Linked DNA regions of Homo sapiens: region 2 is linked to region 1. Evidence: promoter capture Hi-C in human tissues and cell types (Jung and others, 2019). All regions are on one chromosome and are shown on one strand. Each heading gives the region's core, a stretch centred on a gene start or on the middle of the fragment in contact. The rest is flanking DNA. Distances are from core to core; before and after follow the strand shown. Region 1 holds the start of SLC5A11 (solute carrier family 5 member 11). Region 2 has its middle 26 kb from the start of AQP8.

Evidence for each region. The method cuts DNA at HindIII sites, captures the fragments that hold promoters and counts their contacts. A contact is called where the count stands out against the background at its distance.
Region 2: a contact is called between a fragment that was not itself captured here and the fragment with the promoter of SLC5A11 in region 1, in 3 of the 25 tissues and cell types used here (aorta, spleen and thymus).

The regions. Positions count from the first base shown.
Region 1 is chr16:24,843,961-24,848,317 of GRCh38, forward strand. It overlaps SLC5A11 (solute carrier family 5 member 11), which reads left to right and starts at 2,003. Exons shown (of 17, transcript NM_001352248.3): 1 at 2,003-2,052; 2 at 2,272-2,478. The HindIII fragment of the contact is 12,271 bases long and covers 1-3,327 here.
Region 2 is chr16:25,188,436-25,192,989 of GRCh38, forward strand. No RefSeq gene overlaps it. Among named protein-coding and RNA genes, the nearest start is that of AQP8, 26 kb to the right of the region's middle. The HindIII fragment of the contact is 5,749 bases long and covers 1-4,554 here.

The DNA.
Region 1 (4,357 bases), core at 753-3,252:
CCCAGACTGGCCTCTAACTCCTGGCCTCAAGAGATCCTCCTGCCTCAGCTTCCCAAAGCTCTGAGATGATAGCATGAGCCCCTGCACTCCACCTCTCCTATTCTTTATAGCACTGAGGGTAAAAATGAAAAACCTGACAGAGAAACAATCGGAGGTGACAAGCCAAGGGTCGAGCAGGCCACATCTGGCCCTCAAGGATGCGTAATCATGAAACTTTGCAGAACTTCTCTAGAACAATCAGAAGTTCTGACCCCATTGGGCCTGTCTTCCCCCACGTGGAGCTGGGTCGTGGCTGTCCTCTTCAGCTGGGACACATGCTCTCGGGTCAGCCTCAGCTCCACCTGCCCGGCTTCACTCACTACCACGCCTCTTCTGTAGACACCCTGCACATGGCTAAGGCTCCCCAGACATTCCCAAGAAGTCAGGACTGGACCCCAGGTTGGCGAAGCAGTGCACCCTCGGTGGCACCCCACTGCCTTTCCTGGTGCTGTGGCCTCTGCTGCAGATCACAGATTCATGGCCTTCTGTCTGTCCCTCTTCTCCAATCCCAGCTGTTCCTTCTGTAAATCTGTCCCCCAGGGCAGGTCCCTCCCCCAAAGGCCCCATTCATACTGGTGTTGGTCAGTCACCCAGTGTTTGCTCACCCAGGCCACCCTTTATCCAGTCAAGCCACCCTCCACTGCTCCTGCAGGACTCTAGAGCCAGGTGGCCTGGGCTGAAATCTTGCTGTGTCACTTACAACCCGGGTGATCCTGGGCCGATGACTCATCTCCTCTACCTCTGTTACCTCGTCAGTAAGATAGAGATAACAGGACCTAACTTCGAGGGTTGTTGGAAAGACCAAGTGAGTAAAGGCATGTTGTGCCCTTAGAGCCTGGCACGTGTTCATCACTGCTATTATTTCTGGCTACTCGGTGCCAGGACAGGGGCCTCAGCTGAGGGCCCCCCAGAGCCTGGCAGGCCCAGTGAAGGAGTGAGATGGGGAGGCCACGACTCCTCCCCAGTCAGCAGCTGTCCTGTGGCCATGGGGGCCTGGTGAGGCCAGATCTTCAGGTTGTTCTAGAAAAGTGAGTATTCTAGAATTATGTTTCAAGCCTCTTGGTTTGCAAATACTAGTAACTATTTTTAAAATGTTTTGGTATTTGGCCTGGCACAGTGTTTGACCCCTGTAATCCCAGCACTTTGGGAGGCCAAGGTGGGAGGATCACTTAAACCCAGGAGTTGGAGACCAGCCTGGGCAACATAGCAAGATTCTCTCTCTACCAAAAAAATGAAAAAATTAGCTGGGTGTGGTGGTGCACGCCTGTAGTCCCAGCTACTCGGGAGGCTGTGGTGGGAGGATCACTTGAGCCCAGGAGGATGAGCCTGCAGCAAGCTGTGATGCCACCACTGCACTCCAGCCTGGGTGACAGAGTGAGATCCTGTCTCAGAAATAAAAAGTAAATAAAGTTTTGGATGCTTTGAGCATCTGGCAGAAATCTTCGCTATGCCCCGCTGATGTCCTGGGCCCGATGTGGGCGCCTGGCCATGGCTCGGTCACTCCTGACGGTTTTTCAGGGCCTCAGACACCTCTTCTTCTTCTTCTTCTTCTTTTTTTGAGACTGATTTTCGCTCTTGTTGCCCAGGCTGGAGTGCAATGGTGTAATCTCGGCTCACCACAACCTCCGCCTCCCGGATTCAAGTGATTCTCCTGCCTCAGCCTCCCGAGTAGCTGGGACCACAGGCATGCACCACCATACCCGGCTAACTTTGTATTTTTAGTAGAGATGGGGTTTCTCCATGTTGGTCAGGCTGGTCTCGAACTCTCGACTTCAGGCAGACACCTGTTCTTTGCCATGCCTCTGTCTGAAGAGTATATGGAAAGGGGTTGCACAAGCAATGGTTGCTGTTCCTGTTGCTGCCACTGCGGTGAGGGCTGTGGCTGGACGTCCCTCCTGGCACTTTGCCTCTGTCCCCTCCATCCGCCGCCAGCATTTTTCCTCCCCTCCCCTTCCTCCAGCTCGTCCCAAGCCTGCCTGTCCCCAGCGTGGAGGCGGGACAGTGGAAGACTGGGTGAGTGAAGCAGGATGGTGCCTTGGGCTCCAGCGTCTCCCCAACCCCTCCATGCCATGGGTCCCCACGCAGGTGAGGACCCTGGTGGAGGACGGTGTGGGCAGAGCGTGGGACATGTCACCTTCCCCACCTGCTCAGAGTTCAAGGGTCCTGGGCTGGGCCCCGTTCTCTCTTCTGCCCTGGGGAGATCATTCACGCTTCCTTTAATCCCCGCTGCAGCTGAGGCTGGAGTTTGGAGTTTGACCCGCTTGGAGGCTCTCTCAGCAGCGGGCATATAGGAGGAAGGGTCACTGCTGTCTCCGGAAGCTCTTGGCTGCAAAGAGAGAGGATCCCGGGTATCTCCCTCCTTACAACCACCGCCACCTCCTAGTGCCTTAGAAGCCACTGACAGCCCCCAGGGCAGGTGAGCCCTGCATCTGGAATAAGGTAAGACACCCCCTGCCCCCAAACAGGTAGCCACTCTCCAAACTGGGAAGTTGGTCTGGGGACAGGTGCTGGCAGAAGGACTCCAGCTGTCACCTGTGGGGCAGGGGAAGCTCAGCCCTCTCTGCAGAGAAAGCTTGTCATACACCAGGACAATGGAGTGTGTTTGTGGGGTGGGCATGGTGGTATGAAGCCAGCAGCCGGCAGCCAGCAGCACCGTACGTGGGTCCCAGCTCTTCCACTTAACCAAGGTCAGGGACATTGAGCCAAACATTTTGCCTCACCGAGTCTCAGGTTCCTTATCTGTCAAATGGGAATATGAACCTCAGGCTGACCCACCCCACAGGTGTGTTACCCAGAGATAACGAAGGTAAATGTATCCACATAAGCATTAAAAAGCTATAGGAATGTATTTACTACAACTGCAGCTGCTGTTAACTACAAGGCAAATACAAGTCTTCACTGGTACGTGTCAGACACGTGCAGAGAACTTTACGCCTGGATCTCATCTAACTGACACAGAAACCCTGTAAGGTAGGTACAGCACCCCCTAATTCATGGACAGAGTCTAAGGGTCATTAAATAACTTGCTCAAGGTAATACAGATAGTGAGTGGCCAAGCCAAGACTCAATTCCTGTGGCCATGAGCTCAGCCACAATATCAGTGATTTTCTTTTTCTTTCCTTTCTTTCTTTTTCTCTTTCTTTCTTTTTCTTTCTTTTCCTTTCTTTTCTTTGTTCTTTCTTTCTTTCCTTCTTTCTTTTATTTCTTTCCTTATTCCTTTCTTTCCCTTTCTTTCTCCTTCCTTCTTTCCTTCCTTCCCTCCCTCCCACCTCTCTGTTTCTCTTTCTTTTCCCTTTTTTCTTTCTTTCTTTCTTTCTTCTCTCTCTTTTATTATTTATTTCTTCCTTTCTTTCCCTTTCTCCTTCCTTCTTTCCTTCTTTGCCTCCTCTCTCTCTCTGTGTGTGTTTTCTGTTCTCTCTCTCTCTCGTTTCTTTTCTGTCTTTTCTTTCACAGGGTCTCTCTGTGTTGCCCAGGCTGAAATGTAGTACTATCATAGCTCACCAGCATGCCCTGCTAACTTTTTTATTTTTATTTTTTGTACAAATGGGGTCTCCCTGTGTTGCCTTGGCTGGTCTCAATCTCCTGAACTCAAGCGATTCTCCCGCCTCAGCCTTGCAAAGTGCTGGGATTACAGGCATGAGCCACTGCACCCTACCAATCAGTGGTTTTCAAATGGTGTTCTGCTGAATTATTCTGGGCAATAGTTGACAGAAGTGTCCTAGCCCATTGGGCATCCTGCAGATAGGACTTGGAAAAATGCTGTCCCTTTTTTGGGCGGTCACAGCGTGCAAAGGATCTATAGCAAAGGCTCTAAAAATCCCACATTTATTTGTTGTACCAACATTTATTGCATGCCTGTTTTGGGGACACAATGAGAGTGACAGAGACATGGACCTTTCTTTATGGGGCTTGCTGTGCAGTGCAGACAAGGGGTAATCACACACATCAAGTGTTACACTTGATTAGACTGTGATGAGAAGTTGTGTTTGCCATGAAAGCAAAAAGCTTGGGGACCCAATTTATATTGAGGCCAAGAGGGGGCTCCTTTGGGGATATACAGCAGGCTGACATCTAAAGGATGAGTAGGAGCTTGTCCAGCAAAGAGTGCAGGGAAGAGCATCCCAGGCAGAGGGAACAGAATGGCAAAGACCCTGAGGCCAGAAATCGTGTTCCAGGAATAAAATGAATGCTAGTATGTGGTGGGGTTGGAAGCACAACAAAGCACCCCAGCAGCATGGAGATGTTTTGAGCAGGAAAATGATCTGATCTGACTCATACTTAAAGATTTCTCTGGCTTCCGTGTGAGGGGCGGATTAAA
Region 2 (4,554 bases), core at 999-3,498, 340 kb after region 1:
AAAGCAGGCGGATCACTTGAGGTCAGGAGTTCGAGAGCAGCCTGGCCAACATGGTGAAACCCTGTCTCTATTAAAAAAAAAAAAAAGAAAATTAGGCCAGGCGTGGTGGCTTACGCCTGTAATCCCAGCACTCTGGGAGGCCGAGGCGGGTGGATCATGAGGTCAAGAGATCGAGACCATCCTGGCCAACATGGTGAAACTCCGTCTCTACTAAAATACAAAAATTAGCTGGGCATGGTGGCACGTGCCTGTAGTCCCAGCTACTCCAGAGGCTGAGGCAGGAGAGTTGCTTGAACCCGGGAGGTGGAGGTTGCAGTGAGCCGAGATCGCACCACTGCACTCCAGCCTGGCGACAGAGTGAGACTCTGCCTCAAAAACAACAACAACAACAAAACTAGCCTTAGCGCGGCATGGTGACGCACACCTGTCATCCCAGGTACTCAGGAGGCTGAGGCACGAGAATCACTTGAACCCAGGAAGCGGAGGTTGAGCTCTCAGTGAACTGAGATCGCACCACTGCACTCCAGCCTGGGCAACAGAGCAAGACTCCGTCTCAAAGAAAAAGAAAAAGAAAAAAAGAGAAGCAGCTTTTCCATTTAAGCTGGCCGAGGAAGCTTTCCTGAGACTGTCATACAAAGTCCCCTAGGCAGATGGATTCGCATTCGCAAGAGAGCATGCCTGTATACCCGTGTCTTCCGTCATTACTAACCAATTGCATATTTGTGCTTCTAATTGCTTGTGTTAATTTATTCCGTCCCTATAACAACTCCACGTCAGTTTGTTTTAATCCTCACTTTTTTTTGAGACCGGGCCTCACTCCTGTCACCCATGTTGGAGCGCAGTGGCATAATCGCAGCTCATTGCAACCACTTTGGGCTCAACGGATCCTCCCACCTCAACCTCCCAAGTCTAATTAGCTAGGACTACAGGCATATGCCACCATGCCTGACTGATTTTTTATATTTTGTATAGATGGGGTCTCACCGTGTTGCCCAGGTTTGTCTTGAACTCCTGGGCTCACGCCGTCCTCTTGCTTTGGCCTCCCAAAGTGTTCGGATTACAGGCGTGAGTCACTGTGCCCAGCCTTATTCTCATTTTAAACATGAGGAAATAAGGGTATGTGGAAATTGTGTAATTTGTCCAAGGTCATACAGCCAATCAATGATGGAACTGAATTTGAAACCAGGCAGGTTGGCTTTAGAGCCTGTGCTTTTGACTGCTATGTTATATGTGTCTCCTTTCTCCCTGCCCTTAATAGCACATAAAATCTTTTTCTTTTCCCCCAGCACCACCATTACATGAAGGTGTGGGGTCTCATTTCTTCCCATTTGTCAGGTTGGCTTATTTCTCCTTTTCTGGGCACCCCTTGATGCTGTTGATGAAGAATGACCCTCTCCTCAAAAGTCTTACAGTTCTTAGTGAGGCTTTTGAATACTTAGTTGCAGAAACGGCTTTTGAAATGCACTATCTAAATGGTTTCAGGAATACGCCATTAATTGATGAATGCCACCAAGAGCTTGGATTCATGCCTTCTGCTCTGTCTTCCTTGGCATGTTGACTTTTTTTCTTTTTTTGGAGACAGGGTCTCACTCTCTCGCCCAGGCTGGAGTGCAGTGGCGTGATCTTGGCTCACTGCAACCTCTGCCTCCCTAATATAATCGGTGAGTTATATTACCCACAGATGTGCACATTTTATTGTCTCGCACAGATGCTGGAAGTAGACCACAAATTTGACTTCCCCCCAAGTCCTCTCAAGGATTGAAACATGATTCAAGTGCCTCAACTTCCTGAGTAGCTGGGATTATAGGCATGCGTCAGCATGCCCAGCTAATTTTCATTGTTTTTTCTGTGTGTGTTTTGTTTTATTTTTCAGTAGAGATGGGATTTCACCCTGTTGGTCAGGCTGGTCTCGAACTGCTGGCTTCAAGTGATCCACCTGCCTCGGCCTCCCAAAGTGCTGGGATTACAGGGGTGAGCCACTGCGCCTGGACAGCATGTTGACTTTTCATCTTCAGCTTGTTGCCTCATGATCACAAAGTAGCTCCCAGAGTGCCAGGCATCATAACTGCATTCATGGCAGGAAAAAAGATGGGTCTTTTTTTTTTTTCAGTGGTTTCTGTCTTTTTTATCCAGAATAAAATTGTTCCCAAATATGCCTAATAGACTTCCCTCTGTATCTCATGCTAAGAACTGGGTAGGGTTGCCAAATGAAATACAGAATGCCCAGTTAAATAGAATTTCAGTAAAGAACACATAATTAAAAAAATATATAACTGGGACCCATGTAATATTTGGCACATGCATACACTAAAGAAATAATGTGTTGTTTACCTGAAATTTGCAGTATACTTACACTAAAAACATTATGTGTTGTTTACCTGAAATTCAAATTAACTGGGCGTTCTGTATTTTTTTTTTTTTTTTTTTGCTAAATCTGGCAACCCTAGAACTAAATCTATTTGGAAGAGACGGTGGGAAATAGAATATCTGGCTTTCGAGCTTTTATAATACAAGATGGGCAAAATACACAGGACTTTTAGATCATCGGCTACCCAGTGTGAAGTCATTTTGGTTGTGTTCACTGTAGCGTGCAGAGAATTGGTTTGTTTTGTGTTTTGTTTTGTTTTGAGACAGAGTCTCCCTCTGTTGCCCAGGCTGGAATGCAGTGGCGCAATCTCAGCTCACCAAAACCTCCTCCTCCCAGGTTCAAGCGATTCTCCTGCCTCAGTCTCCCGAGTAGCTGGAATTACAGGTGCCAACCACCATGCCTGACTAATTTTTGTATAATTAGTAGAGATGGGGTTTCACCATATTGATCAGGCTGGTCTCGAACTCCTGACCTCAAGTGATCTGCCCTCCTTGGCCTTCCAAAGTGCTGGGATTACAGGCGTGAGCCACCGTGCCCAGCTGAGAATAGGTTTCTATAACGTCAGAAAATTTATGAAGTTTGAGGCAGGGTCAAACGATATTTTTTCATCTTATTGTTATTTTTTGTTTTGTTTTCTTAAGAGATGGGGTCTCACTGTCTCACCCAGGCTGGAGTGCGGTGGCATAATCACAGCTTTCTGCATCCTCAAACTCCTGACTCAAGGGATTCCATCTTAGAGGCTTTTATGCCTTTCATTTTTGGGTGGGAGAAGTGGATATCTGATCATGAATAAAGCATCTGTTATGGGCAGGAGATATATTTATATTTTGGTTTATTTCTTTATATCCCTCCTTGTTCTACAAGGGGAATTGAGATACCTGATAAAACTACAGCAACAGGATGGGCATGGTGGCTCACTCCTGTAGTCCCAGCATTTTGGGAGGCTGAGGCAGGCGGATCACAAGGTCAAGAGATCGACACCATCCTGGCCAACATGGTGAAACCCCATCTCTACTAAAAATACAAAAAATTAGCCGGGGGTGGTGGCTACTGCCTGTAATCCAGCTACTCAGGAGACTGAAGCAGGAGAATCACTTGAACCCAGGAGATGGAGGTTGCAGTGAGCTGAGATTGTGCCACCACACTCCAGCCTGGCGACAGAGCGAGACTGTCTCAAAACAAAACAAAAAAACAAAAAAAACTATACAACAGAAAAACAAACAAACAAACAAATGCTCGGGGAAGTTTGAACATGAGGCTTTTTTTGTTTGTTCATTTTGTTTTGTTTTAAATGCCAGGAGTTATTAGCCCACGGATGTGCACATTTCATTGTCTCGCATAGATGCTGGAAGTGGGCCATAAATTTGACTTCCCCCAAGTCCTCCCTCTCAAGGATTGAAACATGATTCAGTTTCCATAAAATTACAGCCAGCCACATGCTCAAGAGAGGCACAGCTGTTCCTGCAGGAGACCCTGGAGAAGCTTCACCCAGAAACCCTCAGTGAGATCCCTGTGATTCGCATGTTCGTGGACCTGGGTTTGTAGCTGATGCCCCAGGGTCCTTGGATGCAACTGATGACTTAATGCCGAAGTGAAATTCCATGAAGGTGATTCTATGAGGCCAAAGCAATGCGGTCTGATTATTTAGCTCTGGGAAGCTGGATTTAATGACAGAGTAGAATTTAGAAAATCTGGAAGGACTGAACCGGGAATGGTGGCTCACGCCTGTAATCCCAGCACTTTGGGAAGCCAAGGTGGGTGGATCACTTGAAGTCAGGAGTTCGAGACCAGCCTGGCCAACATGTTGAAACCCTGTCTCTACTAAAAAATACAAAAATTAGCCAGGCGGCTGGGCACAGTGGCTCAAGCCTGTAATCCCATCACTTTGGGAGGCTTGAGGTAGGCAGATCATGAGGTCAGGAGTTCGAGACCAGCCTGACCAATATGGTGAAATCCCGTCTCTACTAAAAATACAAAAATTAGCCGGGTGTGGCGGTGCACGCTTGTAGCCCCAGCTACTCAGGAGGCTGAGGCAGGAGAATGGCTTGAACCTGGCAGGCAGAGGTTGCAGTGAGATGAGATCGCACCACTGCACTCCAGCCTGGGTGACAGAGTGAGACTCCGTCTCAAAAAAAAAAAAAAAGTACAAATAGCATACCAACATTTTCTTGTACTCATAAGTTAGA